Linked DNA regions of Homo sapiens: region 2 is linked to region 1. The links are contacts of gene promoters, found by promoter capture Hi-C in human tissues and cell types (Jung and others, 2019). All regions are on one chromosome and are shown on one strand. The core of a region is centred on a gene start or on the middle of the fragment in contact, and the rest is flanking DNA. Distances in the headings are between cores, read along the strand shown. Region 1 holds the start of TUBGCP6 (tubulin gamma complex component 6). Region 2 holds the start of PPP6R2 (protein phosphatase 6 regulatory subunit 2).

The links. The method cuts DNA at HindIII sites, captures the fragments that hold promoters and counts their contacts. A contact is called where the count stands out against the background at its distance.
Region 2: a contact is called between the fragment with the promoter of PPP6R2 here and the fragment with the promoter of TUBGCP6 in region 1, in 2 of the 25 tissues and cell types used here (lymphoblastoid cells and small bowel).

Annotation. Positions count from the first base shown.
Region 1 is chr22:50,243,546-50,246,460 of GRCh38, forward strand. It overlaps TUBGCP6 (tubulin gamma complex component 6), which reads right to left and starts at 1,478. Exons shown (of 25, transcript NM_020461.4): 1 at 174-1,478. The coding sequence starts at 914. It overlaps HDAC10 (histone deacetylase 10), which reads right to left. Exons shown (of 20, transcript NM_032019.6): 17 at 2,753-2,831; 18 at 2,365-2,547; 19 at 2,130-2,282; 20 at 1,638-1,985. The coding sequence ends at 1,962. RefSeq lists enhancers at 67-997, 571-850, 1,261-1,310 and a silencer at 1,781-1,850. The HindIII fragment of the contact is 41,268 bases long and covers 1-2,915 here.
Region 2 is chr22:50,342,034-50,344,993 of GRCh38, forward strand. PPP6R2 (protein phosphatase 6 regulatory subunit 2) reads left to right here and starts at 1,294. Exons shown (of 24, transcript NM_001242898.2): 1 at 1,294-1,517. RefSeq lists an enhancer at 2-648 and silencers at 745-914, 1,185-1,464, 1,475-1,554. The HindIII fragment of the contact is 17,181 bases long and covers 1-2,960 here.

The sequences.
Region 1 (2,915 bases), core at 228-2,727:
AAGTGGAGGTTAAGGTGAGCCAAGATCGCGCCACTGCACTCCAGCCTGGGTGACAGAGTGAGACACTGTCTCAAAAAAAAAAAAAAAAAGAAGAAGAAGAAGAAGAAGAAAGGTCACAGGAAGCATTTTCCAAACCCCGAGAGAGATGAAAGAGGAAAAACTAAACATTCTACCTTAATAGCCAGCCCAGAGAGGTCCGCATTGTCTGGCACGGGGGGCAGGCCCAGTCGGACGTCCATGTCATAAGTGCGGCTGTGCACAAGGGCCCCGAAGAGCGAGACCCGGGTGTCTCTCTCGAACCTGTCACCACAAGGGTCACCAAATGAGAAGAGCCCGACGGTGGGCAGGCCAGTGCCTGGAGCAGCCTCCATAACCTGAAGTGTTTCCTGGATCATGCTGTGACACAAACACTCTTCTCTGGAGATCAGAGACTGAACGTCCATCTCAAACACACTCAGGTCGTCGCAATCATAGCCGCTGTACGGAACGTTTCTCCCCACATGCTTGTTGTTAAGGAAGTAGTCTCGTTTTCTCGGCAGAACTTGAGGGGGACCACTCCCTGCCAGCTGAACCAGGAGGTCCAAAACAGACCCCACCTCCAAAAGCGGACAGCAAGGGGCTGCTTCCAGCTCCTCCACAAGCTCCTCCAAACGGTCGGCCTTGGGGCCCAGGCCACCCACTCTCAAGTCAAAGGACAACATGAGGATCTTGTTTCTCGCTGGTAGTTTTGACATGTCAGGCTGCAGCTGTTGAGTCTCATCTTGAAAAAGATTTGTGAAAAGAGCATTGTAGGCCACCTTCTTGAGGCTCCGCTTTGCCCTCTTCCGGTTCACACTGCGCTGGCCCAGGTGAGTCTTGGCAGCCGGCAGGAGGGCCTCACACAGGTCGTCGAACAGCTGCGTGATGCTGGCCATGCCCCTTCTCAGCTCCGGGCCCCCGGCGTGTGGGAAAACACCTCACCCGGGCTTCACTCACGCTCCGGAAGACAGGGAGTGAGAGAGGGTCCGAAGAGGCTGAATGACAGGCGGCCTCTCCAATGCCGAAGCTCAGAACTGGTATTTTTTAAAGGAGGTCTTGCGGTTGCTCTACTCAGAGTAAACACGCCCTGCCCTCCCCAGTCCAAGCACGCTGCCCGGCGCCCGGCAGCCCACCAGAAGCCAGCTCGGCGTTTCTTCTAATTCAGTAGCCCTCAACCTTTAGGGAGTCACAGAACCGTGGCAAAACCGAAGAACGAAACGCGCGCCCGCGCAGTACAGCGGACGAACTCGGCTTTGCACCCGTTCTTCGGGACCCACGAGAGGAGACGGCCAGGAGAGGGTGCCACTCCGAGGGTCGTGGGCAGCGGAGAGTCTGGGGGCTCAGCCGGGTGGGTCCCGGGTTCTGGCCTGCACGTCCACCCGTTCTCCAGGCCTCACCCGTGGAAAGTGCCCACGGCTGCCGCTCTCGCCGCCTCCGTCGCGTCACAGCCGCGCCAGTGTGAAGAGCACTAGGGCGGGCGCGCCGGAAATACGTCACGGGAACGCCGGCAGCGCGTGAAGTTGGTGAGGCCTGGGCCGCGGCATACTTCCGGCCTGAGTCCGGCACCGCGGGTGAGAGACCGAGGCCGAGCGTGCTCAGTAAAGGAGGCAGAGCCAGCGTTTCGTTTGAGCGATGTTTACTAACGGCGCAAGGGCGGGGAGCGAAGCGCAGCGGGGCGCAGGGGCCGGAACGGGACCGAGCGTGGGTTGCATGGGCCTCGATGGGACGGGCCGGGGCGCGATGGGTGGGGCGGGGGCGAGGTGAGGTGAGGGGTGGAGCGGGGGAAGCACGGGTGGGAGAGGGCGGGGCGCGGGGATTGGGAGTGGGCGGGGTTCCGTGCCCCAGAGTCGAGGGAGCCGTGGGCTTGGGGTCCGGATCGCGGCCGCGGGGCGCTGGCGTGCGGTGTCATTTCTGCGGTGTAAATGCTCCCACCTTGGCCGATTTCAAGCCACCAGGTGAGGATGGCACTACAGGAGGAGCCGAGAAGAGGCGCGCAGTTGGCCTCCGGCGCTGGAGCTGGTTCAGGGCACTCCCCTGCCCTGCCCTCCCCACCGATCTGTGCGGCAGAGCCAGGCCCCAGGGCAGGGCCATGCCTCCGCAGTCAGCCTCACCTGCAACATCTTCCACTGAGGCTCCAGCTGCCCTCTCAGGTACATCAGGGCCTGGACGTCCTCTGGGGAGGCCACAGAGGAAGGGCCTAGGCTAGGAGGTGCCTCTCCATTCAGCACCCGGGCCAGGATCCCTGCTAGCTGGGGTGTGGAGTTCTGGACCAGGGGCGAAGACGGAAGCAGTCACTGGTCCTTTCCCTCGTCCCACCCCGCAGCACCTCCACCCTGCCCAGCTTACCTCCTCCAGGAGGGCCAGGACTCGGCCCCCTGCCAGCCCCCGAAGCATTGCAGCCAGGAGTGCAGCGTGGGGGCCCTGCAGGCCATGGCCAGGCCCCAGCGCCACCAGCACCAGGTCAGGCTGGAAGCCATAGGCCAGGGGCAGCACCAAGCCCAAGATGCAGCTCAGGAAACCACCGGTCATCTGTGGGGACAGCAGAGCCCAGCTCCTCATCTACGGACACCTGCTGGCTCTGGCCTCCCAACCTCCCAATCTCAGGGCCCCTGGAGTAGGAGCAGGGAGACAGGAAGGACCAGAGGCCTGCTATCATGACAATGCCAGCAAACAGCAGCTGTACACATCCATGGGCTCCCCAGCACCTGCCTTGCCGCGTGGCATGGTCACTCACCACTGGCAGTGGCGTGGAGACATGGAACATGGATAGGGCAGCCGCCTCCTTGCCCCTGATGTTCAGCCACAGACTCCTCCTTCCAGGACACAGGTGCATAAGTGTAAGGCCCTGCTCACCCTCCTGAGCCCAAACCGCAGAGGCAGAGGTGGAAGAGCATTCA
Region 2 (2,960 bases), core at 44-2,543, 98 kb after region 1:
GTTGCACTGGCTGAGCACAGGAGGGGTATCAAGATCAGGCAGAGTTGCACGTGCTCACGGCAGCAGGAGCATCTCCTGCATCTGGTGCCCCTGGCCCCAGTCCCCATTCCGTAGCTCAACTCAGCAGCACCTCCCGCTCCTGCAAAGGAGACCATGGTGAGGGCAGGAGAAGGGCATAGCCTGCTGAACGCAGGGTGTCTCTTCTCTAGGTTGTGAGGCTGAGGCTTTTTCACCCCCACTTCCTGGAAGTTCCCTCAACGGAACCTGCCAGAAATCTGCCCCTTAGGATGCTAGGGGAAAAGCTTTTGCTGGGGAAAGGCTCGCCAGAGGCATCTGCTATAAAACCGGCGAGGAGGGTGCTGCTGACCAGGGCAGGGGACAGGCGTCGGGGAAGCCCGGGGCCGCCAGCCGCAGGGCCAAGCCCTTTTCTCCTGCAACGTCTCTGGCGCCCTCTACCGACAAAGCCTAACAGCGCCAGCTGGCAAAAGAGAAATACCGAATATTTGAGCCGCCCAGATACGCTTTCGCAGAGAGCATCGGTGAATCCTGGGCAATACACTGACAACTGGAAAAAACGTTTAGAGATCCCTTAAGTGCTCCATGTTTTCCCAACATTTACCCACGGCTCGCTCTAACATCTGAAATAATAGTAATCATTTTTGAAATTATTTTGATGGAATTAAACAATTCCAGCACTTGTTAAATAGGCACATACTTAATTTGCAAAACGCCGTGCAAGAACCCGTAGCGCACCTGGAGAAAACTGTCTGGAGGCGGCTCAGGCACTCCGGGTCCAGGCAGGACGCGGGACGGGGAGGGGCCAGGCCTGGCGCCCGGGGCTGAGCCCGCTCCTGCTGCTCGGGGCGTCCACGCCCCGCGGCCTCTGGGAGGGGCCTGTGGCAGGAGGGAGGCCCGGGAGAACAGGCCCTTTCCTGGGCCACGGGGGAAACCCCTGCCCCAGGTGTGTGTCTCTCAAATGCTGCGTCGGGCCACGCGAGGATTGTTTTGTGGCTACAACAAAATTAACTATGCTTGCACAAAACTTTAGCCAATACCTCAAAGGGAAACGTAAAAGGGGAAAGACGCACTCTTACCCCACCCACTCCAAGGCAGCAGTCAGCACACCCAAGCCCTCGTGCTCCCACGCGGGTTTCACCGAGTGCCCCACTCCAGGGGGCCCGGAGAGCCGGCCCAGGTCCCGGCCCCGCCCACCCGCGCGGCCCCGCCCCCGGCCGCGAGCGTGCGCGCCCCAAGCGGAGACCCCGCCCCCGGAGCGCGTGCCCGTGCGCCGCCGCCGCCATTTTGGAGCGATCGGAGTGCCGCCCGCGGCCCCGAGTCGGTCTCGAGCCGCCGGCCGGCCGTGCCGGTGTCCGTAGGCGCTGCGCCCTCGGCCGGGCCCATGTGTGTGCGGCCCGCCCGAGGCCGCCCGGGCTTTGCCTCCACCAGCGCCCTGGCCTCCGCTCGGGCCTCCACACGGGCCTCCGAAGAGCTGCCGCGACGCCCGGCCCGCAGGGCAGGTGAGTGCGGCCGCCCGCCGCTCAGACCCGGCCCCCAGTCTGCCAGTGCCCCCCAAGTCACTTCTCCCCGAGTCAGTCAGTGCCCCCTCCAGATAGTTATCCCCCAGTCAGTCAGTTCCCCCTCCAGTCAGTTCCCCCCAGTCGGTGCCCCCGGAGTCAGTGCCCCCCCCAAGTCAGTCAGTGCCCCCTCCAGTCAGTTCCCCCCCAGTTAGTGCACCCTCTAGTCAGTTCCCCCAGTCAGTGCCCCCTCCAGTCAGTTCCCCCCCAGTCAGTTCCCCCCCAGTCAGTTTCCCCCCAGTCAGTTTCCCCCCAGTCAGTGCCCCCCAGTCAGTGCCCCCTCCAGTCAGTTCCCCCCCAGTCAGTGCCCCCTCCAGTCAGTTTCCCCCCAGTCAGTGCCCCCTCCAGTCAGTTCCCCCCCAGTCAGTGCCTCCTCCAGTCAGTTTCCCCCAGTCAGTGCCTCCTCCAGTCAGTTTCCCCCAGTCAGTGCCCCCTCCAGTCAGTTCCCCCCCCAGTCAGTGCCCCCTCTAGTCAGTTCCCCCCCAGTCAGTGCCCCCTCTAGTCAGTTCCCCCCCAGTCAGTGCCCCCTCTAGTCAGTTTCCCCCCAGTCAGTGCCTCCTCCAGTCAGTTTCCCCCAGTCAGTGCCTCCTCCAGTCAGTTTCCCCCAGTCAGTGCCTCCTCCAGTCAGTTTCCCCCAGTCAGTGCCCCCTCCAGTCAGTTCCCCCCAGTCAGTGCCCCCCCAGTCAGTTTCCCCCCAGTCAGTGCCCCCCAGTCAGTGCCCCCCAGTCAGTGCCCCCTCCAGTCAATTCCCCCCAGTCAGTGCCCCCTCCAGTCAGTTCCCCCCCCAGTCAGTGCCCCCTTCAGTCAGTTCCCCCAGTCAGTGCCCCCTCCAGTCAGTTCCCCCCCAGTCAGTGCCCCCCCAGTCAGTTTCCCCCCAGTCAGTGCCCCCCAGTCAGTGCCCCCTCCAGTCAATTCCCCCCAGTCAGTGCCCCCTCCAGTCAATTCCCCCCAGTCAGTGCCTCCTCCAGTCAGTTTCCCCCAGTCAGTGCCCCCTCCAGTCAGTTCCCCCCAGTCAGTGCCCCCCCAGTCAGTTTCCCCCCAGTCAGTGCCCCCCAGTCAGTGCCCCCTCCAGTCAATTCCCCCTAGTCAGTGCCCCCTCCAGTCAGTTCCCCCCCAGTCAGTGCCTCCTCCAGTCAGTTTCCCCCAGTCAGTGCCTCCTCCAGTCAGTTTCCCCCAGTCAGTGCCCCCTCCAGTCAGTTCCCCCCCCAGTCAGTGCCCCCTCTAGTCAGTTCCCCCCCAGTCAGTGCCCCCTCTAGTCAGTTCCCCCCCAGTCAGTGCCCCCTCTAGTCAGTTCCCCCCCAGTCAGTGCCCCCTCTAGTCAGTTCCCCCCCAGTCAGTGCCCCCTCTAGTCAGTTTCCCCCCAGTCAGTGCCTCCTCCAGTCAGTT